Regions from separate parts of the Homo sapiens genome. Here regions 1 and 3 are each linked to region 2. Evidence: promoter capture Hi-C in human tissues and cell types (Jung and others, 2019). All regions are on one chromosome and are shown on one strand. The core of a region is centred on a gene start or on the middle of the fragment in contact, and the rest is flanking DNA. Distances in the headings are between cores, read along the strand shown. Region 1 has its middle 98 kb from the start of CDKN3. Region 2 holds the start of BMP4 (bone morphogenetic protein 4). Region 3 overlaps LOC105370504 (a long non-coding RNA gene).

Evidence for each region. The method cuts DNA at HindIII sites, captures the fragments that hold promoters and counts their contacts. A contact is called where the count stands out against the background at its distance.
Region 1: a contact is called between a fragment that was not itself captured here and the fragment with the promoter of BMP4 in region 2, in 1 of the 25 tissues and cell types used here (lymphoblastoid cells).
Region 3: a fragment that was not itself captured here is called in contact with the fragment with the promoter of BMP4 in region 2 in 1 of the 25 tissues and cell types used here (lymphoblastoid cells).

Annotation. Positions count from the first base shown.
Region 1 is chr14:54,296,898-54,300,640 of GRCh38, reverse strand. No RefSeq gene overlaps it. Among named protein-coding and RNA genes, the nearest start is that of CDKN3, 98 kb to the left of the region's middle. The HindIII fragment of the contact is 7,875 bases long and covers 1-3,743 here.
Region 2 is chr14:53,954,436-53,958,074 of GRCh38, reverse strand. BMP4 (bone morphogenetic protein 4) reads left to right here and starts at 1,250. Exons shown (of 4, transcript NM_001202.6): 1 at 1,250-1,525. It overlaps LOC124903317, which reads right to left. Exons shown (of 2, transcript XM_047432035.1): 1 at 1,747-3,639. The coding sequence starts at 2,174. RefSeq lists silencers at 1,288-1,367, 2,017-2,126 and promoters at 82-1,424, 1-1,424, 3,327-3,639, 2,352-3,639. The HindIII fragment of the contact is 13,246 bases long and covers 1-3,639 here.
Region 3 is chr14:53,681,597-53,684,847 of GRCh38, reverse strand. All of the region lies in intron 2 of LOC105370504 (a long non-coding RNA gene), which reads right to left. Among named protein-coding and RNA genes, the nearest start is that of LINC02331, 170 kb to the left of the region's middle. The HindIII fragment of the contact is 3,198 bases long and covers 1-3,026 here.

The DNA of each region.
Region 1 (3,743 bases), core at 1,084-3,583, 340 kb before region 2:
AAAATAAAATTTTAAGAGTCATCATTCATCTCTGTTTTTGGCACGGATCTCCTTAATAAAAAAAATAAGCATTAAAACACAGGTCCATATATAAAGCATGTGGCAAGTAGAGGTCTTCTCTAATATTCCTTGAAGTCGGTTTCTAGATTCCCTGTACACCCTATTCTAGAGCGGATGACTCTCATCTGAAACAATAGCTTCCCATGAATTTTGCTCCAGTGTTGACTCAAAGAATGAAGGCTTCTAGGAGTTAGCTAGCATCTGGAAGAAGGGAGAGGAAGAAGAAGAGATTGAGGAAGAAAAAGATGAGTTAAACCCCAACAGTTTACTCATCAAAATAAATATTGTGAAGAGGTTTCTCGGGGGCCCTTATTACATGAGGTGAGGGAATCGTGCACAGAGCATTAGTAAAGTCAGTGTATCCATGTGAACTACCAAAAAAAATTTTTTTTTTTTTTTACAGATGTGAAGTCAGGCTAAGAGCCTATCCATCAGTCCAGGAATGACTAATTATTGGAGAACAGAAGATTCTCTGTAGTTTCTCCTTTGTATCAATACATGAAAAAAAAACCTAGAATTTTGTGGTCAAATGTGGCTGTAAGTGAACAGATAAGAGCCGAAGCAAATGGAAGCATGCCTCCATTCCTAAGGGAAGTTGGTGAGCTGCCCACAGAATTTGCTGATAAAGACCCATCTGTTAAAACAAAGTCGAGGAGCGTTGGCAATACATTTCAACCAGAGAGACCATAAGTGGTTATTTTTTCTTGACAGCCTTGTTGGCTTTTTTTCTTTTAAAGCCCAGAAAACTATTTGAGAATGAAATATAGATGATGATATTGGCTTTAAGTTAATGTTACACTTTTTGTTTGGAGAGAGAAAAATCCGTCGGCCCAACTTCTCTGGTAAACACTGTTGCGTGATAAATTGTTATGAGAATAAAGTCATAAGGAAAACTCAGCTTCACAAATGACACACGTAGAAAAACAGCAGATGTCTGATGAAGTAAAGAACCGACTTATTGCCAAGACCTTGAAAAACAAAATTAATTTCCTTTCGTCTTTGATAATGATGATGTAATGTAGTTAATAGGAAGAGCCTGCCACGCTCAAGTGGTTATAAAAGGAGAAACGTTCGCCAGGCACCGGGTCAGTGCTATTACTCTCACTATGTCAGTCACTAGATGAAGCGAGTGAAAGAAGCAAGGAACTTTGTTTTGTGTTGTTTGCAATGTAACTGGACTTCGGCTGTATTACGACTTTTAAGCAGCTATTTCATAAAGAGAAAAAAGGCCGTTATGTAAGTTTTGCTCTGATGATTTCAGATATTTGAAGTCTTTGGAAGTCATTATCAGTGAAAAAGATACTTCACAAGAATGAAACAAAGTCATTGATATTTTAGGGAACAATTACATTTCCATAGGGAGGAGAATGCTTGGATTTTAGGTAAATGAGGCACATGGCTGGTGCCGTTTCCCACACAGGTGAAAATTTTGAGCACATACTAAGGAAACCTTTATTCAACAATTACTTAAGCCCATGAACAATTCACAGGTGCTCTCTCCTTTCAGCTCCAGCTAAAAAGAATCAACACAAAGGCTCATTTTAAGGACATCTGACCATTGCTGGCATCTCATGTTTTAGGATGTAGAAGCTGTTGAATTTTCTGGCCCCAGTAAACTAGATTTAAAATCAATGAAGTGGTTGGCAGCATAACCATGGTCTTGATATTAGAATTGGCCCCATTCTACCACACATCTGAATTTGTTTTGTCTGCTATCAACTATGGGCCATTGGAACAACCTTTCTGTGAGGTTACTCCAACTCTGAGAAAGGGAGAAATCCCTCTCTGGATACTTGGTTGGCCACAGGGTCAGAATATCAGCCATTACAAGTACCAGTGTGGTAAGGTTGATGAAGTTAGCCCCTCTCTCCAGGGCATTCCCTTGAATGTGCATGCATTTAGGATTGAAAGTATATGTGTATCTTCCTTAGGATCCCTCTTTCAGTGGTTCCAGCAGCAGAAACTTGGCAGACAGGTCAAAAACACGACCTGGAGACTGCTAGCTCAATGCCAAACGCCAGAATTTTGCATTTTCTCTTGGTATTTTGAGACTAGTTGTTACCTCTCTTGTCTGGGGGAGATTCTTCTCCCTTGAGAAAAGAATTTTGAAGGACTCATGGATGAGTCTTTTCCAAATTCATGACAGATCTGTTTTCTCTGTTGTTTTTATTTTTTCTTTTCTGCTTTTAGACCATTTATATTAGAAGCACATTTTAAAAATTCTTTGTTTATTATTTTTCTTCTTTTCTATTTACTTCGTCTGGTATAAAGCTTGGATTATCCAGGAGGGAAACCTGACAATATACTCATTGGCCCAAACTCTACTTTGCTATCATGAGAAGTTGCCTGGTTCAATGATGCTTCAGCAAATAAAAACAATAATAATAATAGGAACTATTTATCAAGCATGGTACCATGTGTGCTAAATAGGTGCTTTTTATACTATTCATCAAACATTCATAGAAAAATGAGGTAGCTACCAGAAATAGCCTCATTTTACAGATGAGGTAATTGAGGCTTAGAGAAGTTAACTTGCTCAAGATCACACAAACTCTTCTGTGGTAACACTGGGATTGCAATGCCCATGCTCTTAATGACCAGTATATATCATTTCTTGCTGCTCTTCAACATTGTATTTTCTCTGCCTTTTAGTTACTTTACCCAGGAGTGGGGCCTTGTTCTGTGACATCAACACTGGCTATTCTCAACTGACCTGAGAGTAAGTCTGTGTGCACACAGGCTCTCCCTATTGTGAAAAGGTTCTTATTAAATCCAGGTGTTTGGTTAATACATCATGGAGGCTGCTGAAAGTGTCCTTAGACATATGGATCAGGCTGTGAAAACTCCGTCGCCACCGTAATGGGACAAGTTCAAAAGTTGCTTTTTTGATTGAACTGGGAGCTCTGGATATGTCTTCAAAACCCCTCTTCTGCTGAGATTTCAGCTGGGGGATTCTTTGCTCAGTAGTCAAGCCCCAGAATAGGGAGGAAGAGAGCCTTTTAAGCAGAGCTGTAAATCTTAAACCCTTGCATTTTCACACAAAGTTAAGCAGAAAGAAGTAAGAACTTGGGAGCTCATCTCACAGAAGAAAAAAAATTAAGGGAAGAGCTGGTGCACTTCATGTAGAAATTGAGGGTGGAGGGAGGATTAAAAGGCAGGGGAGGGACTAAGAGCTTAATAGGTAGATACTCTAGTGACGAGTTCTAAGAGAAGAAACGGGAAAAAAAGAGATACAGAAAGAGCCATCTACATGGTAGATATATTAAGAAAGAAACGTCAGGCATCAAGATAAAAGAGAAATATCTGTCTGAGGATTGGAAGATAATAAATTATTTCTTTCTTGGATTTTCTCTAAAACATCCTCTTGTTTTCATAGCTTTCTTTGAGTGGCAGTGCTGCTGATATAGCCATTATTATAGGCTAGAGAAATTAGGAATTGTACATTTTACTCTTAGGAACATTAGTTTTTTCAGCCTTGATTTTGGTTTAAGTTCCCTACCAAAAAAGGAAAAACTCAGCTTATAGCTCTGAAAAATATAAGACATTTGTGACTCTGAACAAAGAGCAGTATGAGTGCTAAATCTCAAATAGTTGTGTTTTCATTACCTGGAATGGATGGGGGCAATATGTGAAAACCCAGAAGAACTCACAAAAAAAATTGAAGTGGTTGTATTACTATCCTG
Region 2 (3,639 bases), core at 1-2,500:
CACTCCTCTGGCTACCTGGAGCTCAGGCTATGAGCCTCAACCCCTCCCTGAAGCATTAGCTCTGGAGCAGAGGCTGTGATTTACTTCAGAGATCTGGGCAAGTCCCTTTAACCTGGTAGTCCTGCCTTTCCTTGTTTGTAAAACAGAGAGATGAGGCTGATAGCTCCCTCACAGCTCCATCAGAGGCAGTGTGTGAAATTAGTTCCTGTTTGGGAAGGTTTAAAAGCCACCACATTCCACCTCCCTGCTAATATGATTACTAAAATGTTTTTATATGAAAGGGCCAATTCCTCATCTCCCCTCTTCCTTTAAAAACAGACCAAGGGGCATCTTTTCTTGTCTCCCTGTGGCCTAAAAGGTTACTGCTTCTGTGGTTATCTCCTTGGAAAGACAGAGTGTCAGGACTCTTAGGTACACCAAAAATGAACAAAAAAATCAACAACAACCATAACACCAACAAAAATAACTGCTGTGTCGGTTCTTAAGACGGCTTCTGAGCTAGAAACAGATTTTTCTAACTGTAAAAAACGTGGCCCCAGCCTGTCTGCAGGCCACCTCTGTCTTTAGGCCTTGGGGGGAGGAGGGAAGTGAGCTCATTTACTGGGGTCTACCTCAGGGTCATCACCAAGGTGTTCTACAAAACGCACTTTAAGAATGTTTTGGAAGGAAATTCACCTTTTAACAGCCCAAGAGGTATCTCTCTCTGGCACACAGTTCTGCACACAGCCTGTTTCTCAACGTTTGGAAATCTTTTAACAGTTTATGGAAGGCCACCTTTTAAACCGATCCAACAGCTCCTTTCTCCATAACCTGATTTTAGAGGTGTTTCATTATCTCTAATTACTCAGGGTAAATGGTGATTACTCAGTGTTTTAATCATCAGTTTGGGCAGCAGTTACACTAAACTCAGGGAAGCCCAGACTCCCATGGGTATTTTTGGAAGGTACGGCGACTAGTCGGTGCATGCTTTCTAGTACCTCCGCACGTGGTCCCCAGGTGAGCCCCAGCCGCTTCCCAGAGCTGGAGGCAGCGGCGTCCCAGCTCCGACGGCAGCTGCGGACTCGGGCGCTGCCTGGGCTTCCGGGACCCGGGCCTGCTAGGCGAGGTCGGGCGGCTGGAGGGGAGGATGTGGGCGGGGCTCCCATCCCCAGAAAGGGAGGCGAGCGAGGGAGGAGGGAAGGAGGGAGGGGCCGCCGGGGAAGAGGAGGAGGAAGGAAAGAAAGAAAGCGAGGGAGGGAAAGAGGAGGAAGGAAGATGCGAGAAGGCAGAGGAGGAGGGAGGGAGGGAAGGAGCGCGGAGCCCGGCCCGGAAGCTAGGTGAGTGTGGCATCCGAGCTGAGGGACGCGAGCCTGAGACGCCGCTGCTGCTCCGGCTGAGTATCTAGCTTGTCTCCCCGATGGGATTCCCGTCCAAGCTATCTCGAGCCTGCAGCGCCACAGTCCCCGGCCCTCGCCCAGGTTCACTGCAACCGTTCAGAGGTCCCCAGGAGCTGCTGCTGGCGAGCCCGCTACTGCAGGGACCTATGGTGAGCAAGGCTACCTGGTGAGGGGAGACAGGCAGAGGGGGTCTAGGAGCCTCCTTGGGGGGAAGAAGCTGGTCACAGGCTGTGACCGAGGCAAAAGGTGGCCTAATTATTTTCCAATAGTGGTGCTGGAGGTGGGGATGCTGGCGCTGAAAGACCTTTAAATATCGGCTACTGCCCCTGCCCAGGCCTTCTCTGTCCAGCAGTCCCTGGGAGATTCTCACCTTTGGGAAGTGCGGGGCAGGAGAGCAGAAACAAGAGAAGCCCTTGGTAGGGGGGTCGTTGGGAAAAACTGTGGGGTCTTGGGCTGAACGCGTTGCCCACGGGCTGGAGGTTGCGATCCCCGGACGGAAAGCGCGGGAGGAGGAAGGAGAGAACCGGCTCTGAGGTCCAGAGAGAGTGAGGGGGCAGAGCGACGGCGAGATGGGGAGAGAACACCTAGCTGGAGCAGGTTCTGCGGTAGAGAGCGCAGTCCTGCTGGCCTCTGGAGAGTGCGCGCCGCTCCGGAGGCTGCGTCGAGGGGAGTGTCACCCAATCTGGCCCCCAGCTGGCGGGGCGCCCTGAGAGCTTGCGAACTGCAGTTGCAGGACGCGCCTTCTCCACGAGCTATTTTCGTCGACTTGCGGAACCCAAGGAACCTCGCCTCTATCATTTCACGGTGTAGGGTCCCTAGAGACGACAGCCAAGATCCCAGGGGCTCCCAGGACGCTTGTTCCTGCGGTGTCGTGTCCTATGGGGAGTTCCTGGCGGGACGAAAGGCGGACGCGCGGCTCTTCCTGGCCCTCCAGGCCCGGAACCGACGGGAAAGGTTCCCGTGATTCCCGAGTCCCTGCAGGCTTCTTCCAGCGGGAGTTGGTCCGGGGGCCTTAGAGGCCTCCAAGCACTGCTTTGGAGGATGGTTTCCAAGGATCGCGGTTTGTGAGTTGAAGGCTTTGTGAGAGGTTAAACCCCCAAAAGATACATACTTGGTAAACTGAGGCTACCTGTAAACACATTTCGGCATTAGGAGAAGATTCGAGTAGGGAAGTGAAGGACAACCACCCCGAGTTACATTCCTTTCCCCCAATAAAAAGCTCTGGGGATGAAAGTTCTTTTGGCTTTTATCTTTTCGATTTAAAAATTTGAGAAGAAAAATGTGACTAGAGATGAATCCTGGTGAATCCGAAATTGAAACACAACTCCCCCTTCCCCTTCCTATCCTCTCGGTTTTAGAACCGCGCTCTCCCGCCCCAGGAGATTCCTTGGGGCCGAGGGTTTTCCGGGGAACCCGGGCGCCCGCCCCTTCTACTGTCCCTTTGCCCCGCGGGCACAGCTTGCCTCCGTCTGCTTTCTCTACTTCTGGACCTCTCCTCGCCGGGCTTTTTAAAGGGCTTCTGCGTCTCAAAACAAAACAAAAAAACCCTTTGCTCTTCCCAACCCTTTCGCAGCCCGCCCCAGCGGTGGCGCGGGACCAGCAAAGGCGAAAGCCGCGCGGCTCTTGCCGGGCGCGGACGGTCGCGCAGGGGCGCCCGCGGCCTCCGCACCCGGACCTGAGGTGTTGGTCGACTCCGGGCATCCACGGTCGGGAGGGAGGGCTGAGCTGTTCGATCCTTTACTTTTCTTCCTCAAAGTCTACCTGCCAATGCCCCTAAGAAGAAAACCAAGTATGTGCGTGGAGAGTGGGGCGGCAGGCAACCCGAGTTCTTGAGCTCCGGAGCGACCCAAAGCAGCAACTGGGAACAGCCTCAGGAAAGGGAGGTCGGGTGGAGTGGGCTTTGGGGCAGGAGTCATGGGGCCCGGGCCCCGGGGACGACCTGGCGCTCCCGGCCCTGCTGAACGCTGAGTTGCGCCTAGTCGGGTTTTCGAAGAGGCCCTTGCGCAGAGCGACCCACGCGCGCGGCAGCATCTTCGATTAGTCAGGACATCCCAGTAACTGCTTGAACTGTAGGTAGGTAAAATTCTTGAAGGAGTATTTGCTGCGTGCGACTCTGCTGCTGGTGCAACGGAGGAAGGGGGTGGGGGAAGGAAGTGGCGGGGGAAGGAGTGTGGTGGTGGTTTAAAAAATAAGGGAAGCCGAGGCGAGAGAGACGCAGACGCAGAGGTCGAGCGCAGGCCGAAAGCTGTTCACCGTTTTCTCG
Region 3 (3,251 bases), core at 178-2,677, 270 kb after region 2:
GGAAACATCCCATAATTTTGAATAAGTAAGTGAATGAAAGTGTAGTCATAAACAATGACACTGGGATTAGTGAATTTTTACGTCAAATTGTATTTCCCTATTTCATATTAGCATGCATGCACGTGCATATGTATAATGAAGCTTTATAAAATTTTTTTTTGCCAAAACATACATAATATTCCCTAATAGCACAAAGGTGATCTAAAATAGTTATCAGTATCTTAAAACCTTGGCAGAATTTGAAAGATACAATTACATAATATCTGGGGCTAGGATTATTCAGCTGGACAATCGTTACTCATTTTCTGGAGAATGAAACTATAAATAAGGTTGTGTAAGTGACAAGTGAATTAGACATGAGTTCACTTGATGATCTTTGACTTCTAGAAAGGACTAGAAGTGAAATTTATCACAAAACTGTTTCTATTTCACATAAAATATTTTAAAGGAATAATATTTTTGTCTAAAGAGTGACTTGAATTGCAACATTTGACAGAAATTTCAGCAGCGTTTCCCATTTTCTTTCCATTTGGTTTTAACAAAGAAAAATCTTAATTGTCAAATTAACCAAAGATTGGCCCATACATAGAATCTGTGTTTGAAAGTGCATTATTCAGGCTCCACACAGCCTGAAGGAGACCCAAATGAAACCTCCACCGCCAGCAGTGACAGAATTGGGAAAGAAAATATTTTGGTGAAAACATTTTCTTTCAACATTTTATCTCACAATGAAATTCAATTTCCCCTTGGTGAATTCTTACATGTTTCAGTGTGTAGCTTTCTATACACTTACTACCCAATATAGGTTGGGTAGTAAGAGAACCTTTCTCCACATCAGCAGTCCCAGAGTGAAAGAGCCCTGGCAACTACAAAGAAGTTACAGACTTCAACTGCAGAATTGCTTATCTATCTTTAAGTCCTTTCTTCCAAGGATTTCTAAGCATTCGATGGGCACCATAATAGTTTGTTATTGACTTGATCAAAAGGTACTTTTAAAGTATTCACGGGATGTGGAGCCTTGCAGAGCTAACCATTTTAGTCTAGAGCTAAAATGATAACTGGCTGAACCCATACATGGGCACATAAAGTAAGGGAGACATTTCTGGGTTCACTTTTCAAAGGGAAACTGAATACTAAGATGCTAAACTCAGTTCCCATGGTAAATTTGTTCCAGAAATTTTTTTAAGAGCCCAGTTTCATATCTCACCTAGAAGTAGCTGATGAATAGAAAGAAAAAAAAAGCGTTAGGGAGTTGCTGATGTTGAAAGAGATAAGATTTACGGGTAGTTACACATTATACAGATGGGTAATTCGCATGTTGAGCCATCTAATCTTGAATTGGCTCAGACATGCCACAGCAAATTTTCTAGAAATCTAATGTTTCATTTATTGGAAAGAACCCAACGATCTAATCCTAACACAGTGTCACGTTTCACTGCTGAATAAGTCAATGCACAACATAGAATTAAGAGGCTCATTAATTATATGGTCATAAATTTGAGAGTGAAAAAGGCAAATTGGGTATTTTGGAGTAATTAATGGCTTTGGGGGATGAACAACCAATTTAGGGTGATTAACCAAATGAAAAGAAAAGCTCACCTAGGCTCTTTGGCAAAAAATCACAGTGCCTGTGACAAGGATGGGTACTTGTGTTGGCCACTTTTAATCCATATTTTTGGATAACCTTAAAAAATAGTCTTTAAAAGCCAAAAAGAAATAATTACAATTCCTAGCTTATATCAGCACATATGAGAAAACACCTGATATTTGTCAGGAACAAACGAATGGGTCAGCTTACCAGGGCTTACCAGACAGCTTTCTGCTCTCCATTTAGTAAGTCCCCTCATCCTGACTAGGCAATACTGTCATAAATACACACAGAGAAGGAAAGTCCAAAGGGAAAAGTGTTGTTGTGATAGTTTTCTAACTAAAAGAAATCATTCTAGAATTTAAGTTAAAAGATCACAAATACCTTTTCAATAGCCCAAGATGTCATAGCTCGGGATGGATCTATACACTTAAGTAAGTGTGGTGTCAATTACTGTAGACATCTCTTAGATTGTGTGGTGACTTATACCAAGGCTTATTTGTAAGGACAATGTTCTAGAAAGTCAACAAGTGGCTAACAAACTCTGTAACCAACTGTATGAATCTTAACAGTAACAACTCCTAAATTGAATGTAGTCCCAAATAATGGTGCACAAATCAAAAATAATTCCCAGTTTCATACCAGGAAAAATACAAACATCAAGACATGTGCAATACAATAGCAAGTTAAGAAGCTCTTGTGCACTGTTTTGAGACAGTGTGATTAAAGATGAATTCTAAAAATATCTTCAGTACAGACGAAAAACCAAACCAATTCATGCCTAATCTGGAAAAGCCTCCATAAAACATACATCTATACTGAAGAGCACAGCACCAGTCATTTCTTAAACTGCAAGCCATAGGTCTTCATTTGCAGTCGATGCTTTATTTTTGTTTTTTCAATGGAATGATGTTAAGGTCAAATCAATTATTTCAGGTCAAACATCTACTTTCCAAGATTCTTACATATCACTTATGCTTCCATTTTTCCAGTGGACACTGGAGCCAAGATCCCTGCCACTTGGTGCTGTCATGAACGGTCCCAGGGTAATTTCCCTGATGTGCAGGTGTGCCGCAGTGCATGGGCCGTCTCTGGAATCCAGCTCAACATTTGAACAAAGAGAGAAATTAGCTCGCCCTTTGCCCTCAGGAGAGGAAACCTGTGTCAGAAAATATCAGCCATGTCTCCAAGCTAAAACTGACCAAACCCCAAGCTTTAATTGTCGGATGGGCCCTTACATTCTGGAATGTCCTAAACTCCAGAATCTCACCACCACTGGTGCTGCACAAGGGGAAATGGGGGAGGCAGGCCTGTCTAAGGGGCCAGTCCATAGGGATACATGGCTAGAAATATCAGAAGGACTTCATTAGGGCAGCATGTCACCTATACAGTCACCTAATACAGTCTTCATGCCAGGGTCCCCCAAGGATTATGTTATAGAAATGTTCTAGTGAACTTCAAAAATTAGAGAAGGAATGCAGTGATTTATCCTAACAAGAGATAGTTCTATGTTCAGATGGAAAATCTGAGTTAAATGAACTTTGTGGGGGTTAGATACCTTCAGAGTAAAAGCTCACTTTGAATACAACATTACAGAAATGAAGGTGTATTTTATGTTGTATCAACCATCTTTTTGATGAGGGCAGCACTACCCGGACTAAGC